Regions from separate parts of the Homo sapiens genome. Here all the other regions are linked to region 1. The links are contacts of gene promoters, found by promoter capture Hi-C in blood cells and fetal thymus (Javierre and others, 2016). All regions are on one chromosome and are shown on one strand. Each heading gives the region's core, a stretch centred on a gene start or on the middle of the fragment in contact. The rest is flanking DNA. Distances are from core to core; before and after follow the strand shown. Region 1 holds the start of FOS (Fos proto-oncogene, AP-1 transcription factor subunit). Region 2 has its middle 26 kb from the start of JDP2-AS1. Region 3 has its middle 6.9 kb from the start of TMED10.

The links. Contacts are between HindIII fragments. The CHiCAGO score rates a contact against its expected background, and 5 or more counts as called.
Region 2: a contact is called between a fragment that was not itself captured here and the fragment with the promoter of FOS in region 1, in 1 of 17 cell types (monocytes). The highest score is 7.4, in monocytes.
Region 3: a contact is called between a fragment that was not itself captured here and the fragment with the promoter of FOS in region 1, in 17 of 17 cell types (monocytes, M2 macrophages, naive B cells and 14 more). The highest score is 42.2, in monocytes.

What each region holds. Positions count from the first base shown.
Region 1 is chr14:75,277,365-75,280,195 of GRCh38, reverse strand. FOS (Fos proto-oncogene, AP-1 transcription factor subunit) reads right to left here and starts at 1,368. Exons shown (of 4, transcript NM_005252.4): 1 at 1,073-1,368; 2 at 68-319. The coding sequence starts at 1,213. RefSeq lists enhancers at 1-450, 1,037-1,096, 451-1,378 and silencers at 1,467-1,526, 1,877-1,966, 2,695-2,831. The HindIII fragment of the contact is 6,704 bases long and covers 1-2,831 here.
Region 2 is chr14:75,399,889-75,402,719 of GRCh38, reverse strand. No RefSeq gene overlaps it. Among named protein-coding and RNA genes, the nearest start is that of JDP2-AS1, 26 kb to the left of the region's middle. The HindIII fragment of the contact is 1,128 bases long and covers 791-1,918 here.
Region 3 is chr14:75,182,116-75,184,946 of GRCh38, reverse strand. No RefSeq gene overlaps it. Among named protein-coding and RNA genes, the nearest start is that of TMED10, 6.9 kb to the right of the region's middle. The HindIII fragment of the contact is 3,996 bases long and covers 1-2,831 here.

The sequences.
Region 1 (2,831 bases), core at 119-2,618:
TGCATCTCCGGGGCTGCTTCCCACCCAGCCCCCACATTCCCAGGAAGAGTACGCTAGAGTTCCTCACCTGTTCCACCTTGCCCCTCCTGCCAATGCTCTGCGCTCGGCCTCCTGTCATGGTCTTCACAACGCCAGCCCTGGAGTAAGCCCCAGCGGAGGGGGCGGGGACTCCGAAAGGGTGAGGGGCTCTGGTCTGCGATGGGGCCACGGAGGAGACGAGGGCGGGCTGCACCAGCCACTGCAGGTCCGGACTGGTCGAGATGGCAGTGACCGTGGGAATGAAGTTGGCACTGGAGACGGCCAGGTCCGTGCAGAAGTCCTAGAACAAAACAGAAGGGGAAAGCCGACGTGAGCGAGCAGGTTCCGGACACAGGTGGGGCGAGTTCCCAGTGCCGCATGCAGCAGTGAAGAGAAACGATCCTGCCACGGACATTTCATCTTAAATGTCCCTCATCCTGGATGAAAGGTCTCCCCCTTTTCCTCCCAGGCATTCCGCAGCGCAGTGCCTGTCTCTTCCATCCTGCCGCTGCGTTCCCGTTATCCCTTCAGCATCACTTGCTTGAAAGGGGGTTTGTTATAAATATCCCTGACGTCTGCGCTGACGCAGGCGCCGCTCCGGAGTCTCCAGAATGAACTCGCTTTTTATCAATGAAACTGCCTTACACACCCGCCCGCTGCACCCTCCTCCCTCATCCCTCCTCCGTGCTCCAGGCTGCCGGGGGAGGGGGGATTGCCGCTTTCTGCCACCTCCCCGGAGAAGCCAGGCTCTAGTTAGCGAGTTTGTGCTTGGGACACGTCTGCTCCAGCTAATGTCAGAGATCCGTCCTGGAGTGCAGACCAGAGGTTGCTCAGAACGAACCTGCCTCCCGAAGGGGGAACCAATTCTTACTATGGCAAGCGTGCGTGCGCTCAGAGCAAGTCCCGAGCCCCCGAGCCGGCACCGCTCCGGCCACGGCAGCCTCCCTCCAGGCACAAGGGAGCCCCCTACTCATCTACTGGAGCGTCCCGCCCGGTGTCTCCTCCTCCGCGACCCCAAGCCCCCGGCCCCGCGGCGACGGGAAGCCAGCCTTACCTGCGCGTTGACAGGCGAGCCCATGCTGGAGAAGGAGTCTGCGGGTGAGTGGTAGTAAGAGAGGCTATCCCCGGCCGGGGACGCGCTGCTGCAGCGGGAGGATGACGCCTCGTAGTCTGCGTTGAAGCCCGAGAACATCATCGTGGCGGTTAGGCAAAGCCGGGCGAGGGGCCGAGGGGCGGAGACAGGTGGGCGCTGTGGAGCAGAGCTGGGTAGGAGCACGGTCACTGCTCGTTCGCTGCGCCGCGGCCGCCGGCTCAGTCTTGGCTTCTCAGATGCTCGCTGCAGATGCGGTTGGAGTACGAGGCGCCGCAGCCACTGCTTTTATAACAAGCGTTTTATGAATGAGTGTAAACGTCACGGGCTCAACCACGGTGGCGCCAGAGGGGTGGCGCGCGGGCCTGGGCGCTTCTGCGGCCGCCCGGCTGCGTCCCCAGCGCTCGCAGCTCCCTGCCCCCGCCTTGGCGCGTGTCCTAATCTCGTGAGCATTTCGCAGTTCCTGTCTCAGAGGTCTCGTGGGCCCCCCAAGATGAGGGGTTTCGGGGATGGCTCCCCCCAGGGCTACAGGGAAAGGCCGTGGAAACCTGCTGACGCAGATGTCCTAATATGGACATCCTGTGTAAGGGGGGAGGGATTGACGGGAACTGCTCGCGGGCTGCAGCCAACACCGAGGGTGCAGTGCGGGGGGAGGCGGGGGCCGCGGCTGGGGGAGGGGAGGCGGGAACGGCGCAGAATGAGAGAGAACATTCGCACCTGGTTCAATGCGGACCCTTGTTCCCGAGGTCGGGGGGGATGGGGCAGAGAGCGCCTTTTTACCCTTGTACGGAAACTGAAGACAGTTCTGAGGCTCAGAGATAGGAGAAACGGCATCGAGTACAGGACCCCGAGGACTTAAGCCTCGGCTCCCGAAGGAATGCGCCCCTACCCCCATCCCCAATTCTAGCCCTAATTCAGTGCAAAGCGTGGAAGCAGACCTTCATCCCCTAACCTCCAGCCCTCGGGCTCGAGCAATACTAGCACTGTTCCTGCGTTTGGAAGCAGAAAGTGGAGGATCCAAAATAAGAGAATACGATAACCTACTTTACGATACTGGGTACTTTATTTATTTATTTTTTTAAAGAAGACAGCGCATTTATTTATTTATTTTTCTCGGCCATGTGTGGGAATATTAAGGAAACTGTCAAATCCCTGAGACACCAGCAGATAAACACTGTGCAAAACCTACGTGCGAAGACATTTGAAGGGGGTGTCTGCCCGGTTCTGAGCTGGGCCCCAGGGGTAGGGAGTGCGAGGTGTGGTTATGTGGGCAGGGTGGTCAGTTCGGGATGACAAGGCGGGGTGTGCTTCCTGCGGGGAACTCAAATCTGCGCTGAGGGCTGGTTCGGTCCCGCCAGGAAGCTGTGCTTACGGGAGCCCGCAGCGGGTGATTTTCCAGCGCGGACTTGGAGGGTGGAGGACGGGGGCTGGAAGGACAGTGTCCAGCTGCGCCTGGGCGGAATACCTCGACTGCTGGGACCCCAGGAGCGGCTCCACGTCCTGGAACACGGGGCTTTGGGGAGGCAAGGTGCTCCAGAGTGTGCCACGCCCCCCAATCTCCTGCCCTGCTGCGTAGGACAGCCGGGGTCACGCTGCCGGGGCTCAGCCCCAGCGCGCTGGCCACCTCCAGGGCGCGAAGACGCATGTCCCCGCACAGCCCCGGTCTTCCCTTCTCCACTCTTCGGGCCCGGGGGTCGGGGCCCGCGGTGGGCACCTGGAGAGG
Region 2 (2,831 bases), core at 105-2,604, 120 kb before region 1:
ACAGACTCACACAGGATGAGAGCATTCAAATGAAGGCATTTGGCAGAGAAAGACTGGAACATGGAGCAGAAGAGATTTGGAAATAGAGTCGTTTCCATCACGCAAATCTTCATTTTATCACAGGTTTGTGGGACCAGGGCAAGAATTCAAACAACAATTCACATACCATGTATCTAAATATTTAAAAGCTATAAGTCAAGATAAGAAATTATTCAATAAAACCTGTCTTCTTCTCCTGTCTTCACAAATGAACCTCCATAACATTCTGGAAGGCCAGGTATGACTTTAGAATCCTCAGACTCTTCAGACCAGAATGCAGCAGCAGAAGGAAAGGCAGCCCCGCTCAGGGCCTGCCTGCCGTTTGTTCCAACCCTCAGCCAGGGCCCCTTCTCAAGTGCACATGCTTGACACCAGCCTGCACCTCCGGGTTCTGCCCACTGCCCAGTCCCAAGCAGCTATCCCTTGGCCACTGGCTGCACAGGCTACCTTGAGAGGGTGGACCATGGAAACAGGCCCACCCAGAACCTGGAAGTGGGCTTGGGCCATTCGGGCAGAGATTCTGGGGTCCTGAGTATGGAGCATGGGCTGGAAGGGGTGGGTGTGGGCATAGACTCTGTCTGGGCATCACCCTCAGCCCTGAGGACCCCCTCGCCCCAGGGACAAAGGGAGGCCTGCGGGGAAGGGATCTCCAAAGGGCAGGGCTTGCCTGGTCTCAGAGTGGTACTGGGTCACTTTGTCACACTGACTGGGCAGGCTTGTCCATAAAGTGAATTGAGAATAACTGGAAGCTTTTTTGAGAGTTTTCCCTATTCCATCTGGGATCTAAAGATTGCCCCTGGATTACTGACGATGCGAGAGGGATTTCTTTAGCCATGACTCTATGTTGGGGGAGATTCAGCACTAAGTACATTTCTCTTCATCTCTGGAAACAAATCCAAACTATAAAACCAAAACCAAAATAGAACAACGAAAAACAAATCCCTCTTCCTTCCCTTGACACACTCAGCCCATTTCTCTGTCGGTTTCCTTCAGCTCTGACACCCTCCAATCAGGCTCTCTCCCATCGTTCTTCTGCCTTTCCGTGCTCACTTTCCTCCCCCCGCCCTTCTTCCCTGGCTCCTGTCTTAATCCCTGCCATAGCGACAGGGAAAAAAACAACATAACACTGGGGCAGATGAGAGCTGAGTTTCAGAGCCCTACTGAGGAGCGCAGGCTAGCGGGGAACCAGGAGTTTCCATAACGAAACTGACAAGAGGAAAACCTTGAAATCTTGGAGGAGTAATGAGGAAAACCTTGGGGTTAGAGAAAGAAGAGGCCTTCCAAAAGCCCAGAGGAGGCCGAGATAAAAAGAACAAGGAAGGGCCAGGCGCAGTGGCTCACGCCTGTAATCTCAGCACTTTGGTAGGCCGAGGTGGGTGGATCATGAGGTCAGGAGTTTGAGACCAGCCTGGCCAACATGGCAAAACCCCATCTCTACTAAAAATACAGAAATTATCTGGGCGTGGTGGCATGCGCCTGTAGTCCCAGCTACTCAGGAGGCTGAGGCAGGAGAATCACTTGAACCTGGGAGGCGGAAGTTGCAATGAGATGAGATCATGCTGCTGCACTCCAGCCTGGGTGACAGAGTGAGACTCCATCTCAAAAAAACAAAAACAAAAAAGAACAAGGAGGAAGGGCTTTGGAAAGTTGGTAAAAGGTTAATCTATTTGCCCTCCATGCCACTTAGCCCCTGACCATCCCAAAACACAGAAGTCAACATCCTTGGGATGAATTATGAGCAGAGGGAGAAATTCCAGGGCAGGGGAGCAGACATCAGGAAAACTGAGATCCTTCTTCTGAAAGGACATAAAAAGTTAATATTTTTGTAAATTGGAACCCAAGCATTTCAGGCCTGGTGGGATGATAAGGGGTTAAAGCTTCCACGGAGCAAACCTAAAGTAGCTTGGAAGGGTGTGGCCCCCAATTTGATTTATTTTAGAAGCATGGAAAGCCAATGAATGTGCTTCTGGCCACAAGACAGGACAGGTGAGAAAAAAGAAAGGAAAGAGGCCTGGTTTGTGTTTCCTGGAAAGGGAGTGTCGTTACAGCTCTCCTGGGGAGCACACACACGCCTCTCGTAAATGTATATGAGCCCTGATTAGTTGGCTCCTGCTCACCACCCTAGCATGTTCCCAGTGGCTGGCTCCCTGGCGTTCTGGCACTCAGGGCTGCCAACACCTGCCAACAACAAGGAAGCTGGGTATTGGGGCTGCAGCTTTTGGAAGCTGCTTATGAAACAGATGACTAAGCCCTGGGGGCAGGGGGAGGGTGCAGCTCATGCCTAGCTCAGCGAGAACTCAATCCAAGTCAGCCTTGACCCGGTGCCAACCATGTGCCAGGCTAGTCCCTGGGGATGTGAAGATGACGAGGCATGGTCCCTGCTCCAAAGGACCAGGCATGCCCATAAAGAATTGTAATCAGAGGCATGAATCTGCAGAAGAGGAGAATACAGGGTTTGGCAGTGGACATGATTTCCCAGGGGGACAGTGATAGAGGCAAAAGAAGGGGGAAGGGGAGTTTCTCCATTCATGTAGTCAGGCTAAGAGTTTTAGCCTCTTCCTAAAGCACACACCCTCTTCCTCATGCCCTCTTAATCCAGTTAGTCTGGCTTCTGTCACCCAAGTGGCTCTCAGACTCTTTCCTCTTCTCCTGTCTTGGCTCAGGTCCTCATTTCTGGCTTTGGCCCAGGCTCTTTGCACTCAGCACTGCAGACAACTTCCTACAATTCAGGTCCAGTGGGCTTGCCCCCCTCCTTGAAGCTGTCTATTGTTTCCCATTGCCCCAGAATAAAA
Region 3 (2,831 bases), core at 93-2,592, 95 kb after region 1:
TTGGCCAGGCTGGTCTCGAACTCCTGATCTCACGTGATCCACATGCCTCAGCCTCCCAAAGTGCTGGGATTATAGGCATGAACTACCACACCCGACTGATAAAAATCTTGTTTTTTCAAGCAAAATGAGTTGGGAGAGGCTAGTGGATCTTTTACTAGCCTCTGAGTGAAAGTAGAGAAAGAGTGCCCAAGAATTTAAAACTTCTTAGTAGAGTGGAAACTAAATCGTAAATACCAAGTTTTATCAAATGTAATGACAAAAATTGGTCTGCAGTTAGGAGCTCTCATTTCTATTTTCAGCTCTAACACTGACTCATTGTATGACTTGAGGCAAGTCACTAAGCAGTTTCAGACCTCAGCTTCTCCATATAAAAAATGGCAATTAAAATGTTGTACCTACTACATAGAGGAACTAGCATTTATGGAGCAACTGCTCTATGTTCATCTCGTGCTAGGAGCTTTATAATATGTTGTATTTCATTTATTCGATAAGTATTTGTTGAGCACCAACTATGGACAGGATATTGTGCCTGATCTCAGGGAAAGATCAGGCAAAAATCAAAGCCCTTGCTCTTCTGAGCTTAAATTCCAGTAGGGTGGGGTGATAATAAACAAGAAAGATATATATATAAGATACTTTCAAACAGTGACAAGAGCCATGTAGATAATAAAACCAGGGCCGGGTGCAGTAGCTCACACCCATAATCCCAGCACCTTGGGAGGCAGAGGCTGGAGGATTGCTGGAGCTCAGGAGTCTGAGACAAGCCTGGGAAACAGAGTGAGACCTCATCTCTACTAAAAAAAAAAAATTAGCCAGGTGTGGTGGCGTGTGCCTGTAGTCCCCAGCACTGGGGAGGCTGAGGTGGGAGAATCGCTTGAGCCAGGGAGATGGAGGCAGCACTGAGCTATGATGGCGCCGCTGCACTCCAGCCTGGGTTACAGAGCAAGACCCTGTCCCTAAAAAAAAAAAAAAAAAAAAAAGAGCCGGGCGCGGTGGCTCACACCTGTAATTCCTGCACTTTGGGAGGCCAAGGCAGGCAGATCACTTGAGGTCAGGAGTTCAAGACCAGCTTGACCAACATGGTGAAACCCCATCTCTACTAAAAATACAAAAATTATCCAGGCACAGTGGCAAGTGCCTGTAGTCCCAGCTACTTGGGAGGCTGTGGCATGAGAATCGTTTGAACCCAGGAGGCGGAGGTTGCAGAGAGCCGAGATCATGCCACTGCACTCTAGCTTGGGCAACAGAGGGAGACCTCCATCTCAAAAAAAAGAAAAAAAAAGAGAGAAAAATAAAGATAATAAAACCAGATAATGTGGTAGAAAGTAACCCAAGGGGGGGGATACTTATGTGGGGTGGTGACATTCAGTTGGGACCCAAATGATGAGAAGCAGTCAGCAGAGTATATGAGACAACAGCTGAGGAGAGCTCCAGGTAGGCAGCAAGGTCCAAGGCTCTGATGCAGGTAGGGGCTTAAACTGTTTGGAAGGCCAGGTAAGACATTAATGGGTAGGATAATCACAGAGAGGCAGGCATGAGCCAGAACACAGTGGCCTCAGCCTTCAGGCTGTGGCTGGGTGTTTGGATTTTAATCTAGTTGATCTGCTTTACTTAAAAAAAAAAAAAAATCAGAGAAAAAAAGAAAAAAAAATCATTCTGGGTATGTTAATGAGTACGATTATTGTCAGGCAATAATAAAAGCAGAGATAACCATTAAGGAGGCTGTTGTCTTGTTTGCTTAACTGACAGAAATAAATTTTTCTGTAAAAGGTCAGATAGCAAATATTTCAGGCTTGCAGGTCACTTGAGCTCTCTATTGCACATTCTTCTCTTCTTTCTCCTCCTCCTTTTTTTTTTTTAACAGCCCTCAAAAAATGTAAAAGCCATTCTTAGCTCTTGCACAATAGAAAAACAGGAGGTTGCATGCCAGATTTGGCCTGCCTAGCTAGGCAGCAGTTTATGGACCCCTAGCTTATAGAGAAGTAGAAACTGACCAGCATACATTTTAGGACCCAATCCAGAACTGACGGGACTTGATGAACTGACTCTGTCTGGGGAGAAGGTTAGTTAAAGAGGAAACAAGAATGGTGTCATTGACTAGGCAGAAGGTGGTGCCATTTACTGAGATGCGGAAGAAGTAGATTTGGGAGCGGGGTGGGGGAAGAGGGGAGAAGGGAAATCAAGAGTTAAGTATGAATTGCCTATTAGTCCTTCAAGTGGAGATGTCAAGTAGGGAGCTCGATATAGACTCTGGAGCTTATGAGAGAGGTCAGGAGATCCATGTTTGGGAATTATCAGTCTACAGACACATTTAAAGTCATGGGATTGGGCTGGGGATGGTGGCTCATGCCTGTAATCCTAGCACTTTAGGAGGCCAAGAAGGGTGGATCACCTGAGGTCAGGAGTTCGAGACCAGCCTGACCAATATGGTGAAACACCATCTCTACTAAAAATACAAAAATTAGCTGGGCTTGGTGTCGTGCTCCTGCAGTCCCAAGTCCCAGTTACTCGGGAGGCTGAGACAGGAGAATTGCTTGAATCTGAGAGGCAAAGGTTGCAACGAGCCGAGATTGCGCCACTGCACTACAGCCTGGAGGACAGAGCACGATTCCATCTCAGAAAAAATAAAAAATCTAAGGCTGGGCGCGGTGGCTCACACCTGTGATCCCTGCACTTTGGGAGGCCGAGGTGGGCAGATCACCTGAGGTCAGGAATTCGAGACCAGCCTGACCAACATGGAGTAACCCTGTCTCCACTAGAAATACACAATTAGCCAGATGTGGTGGTGCATGCCTGTAATCCCAGCTACTCGGGAGGCTAAGACAGGAAAA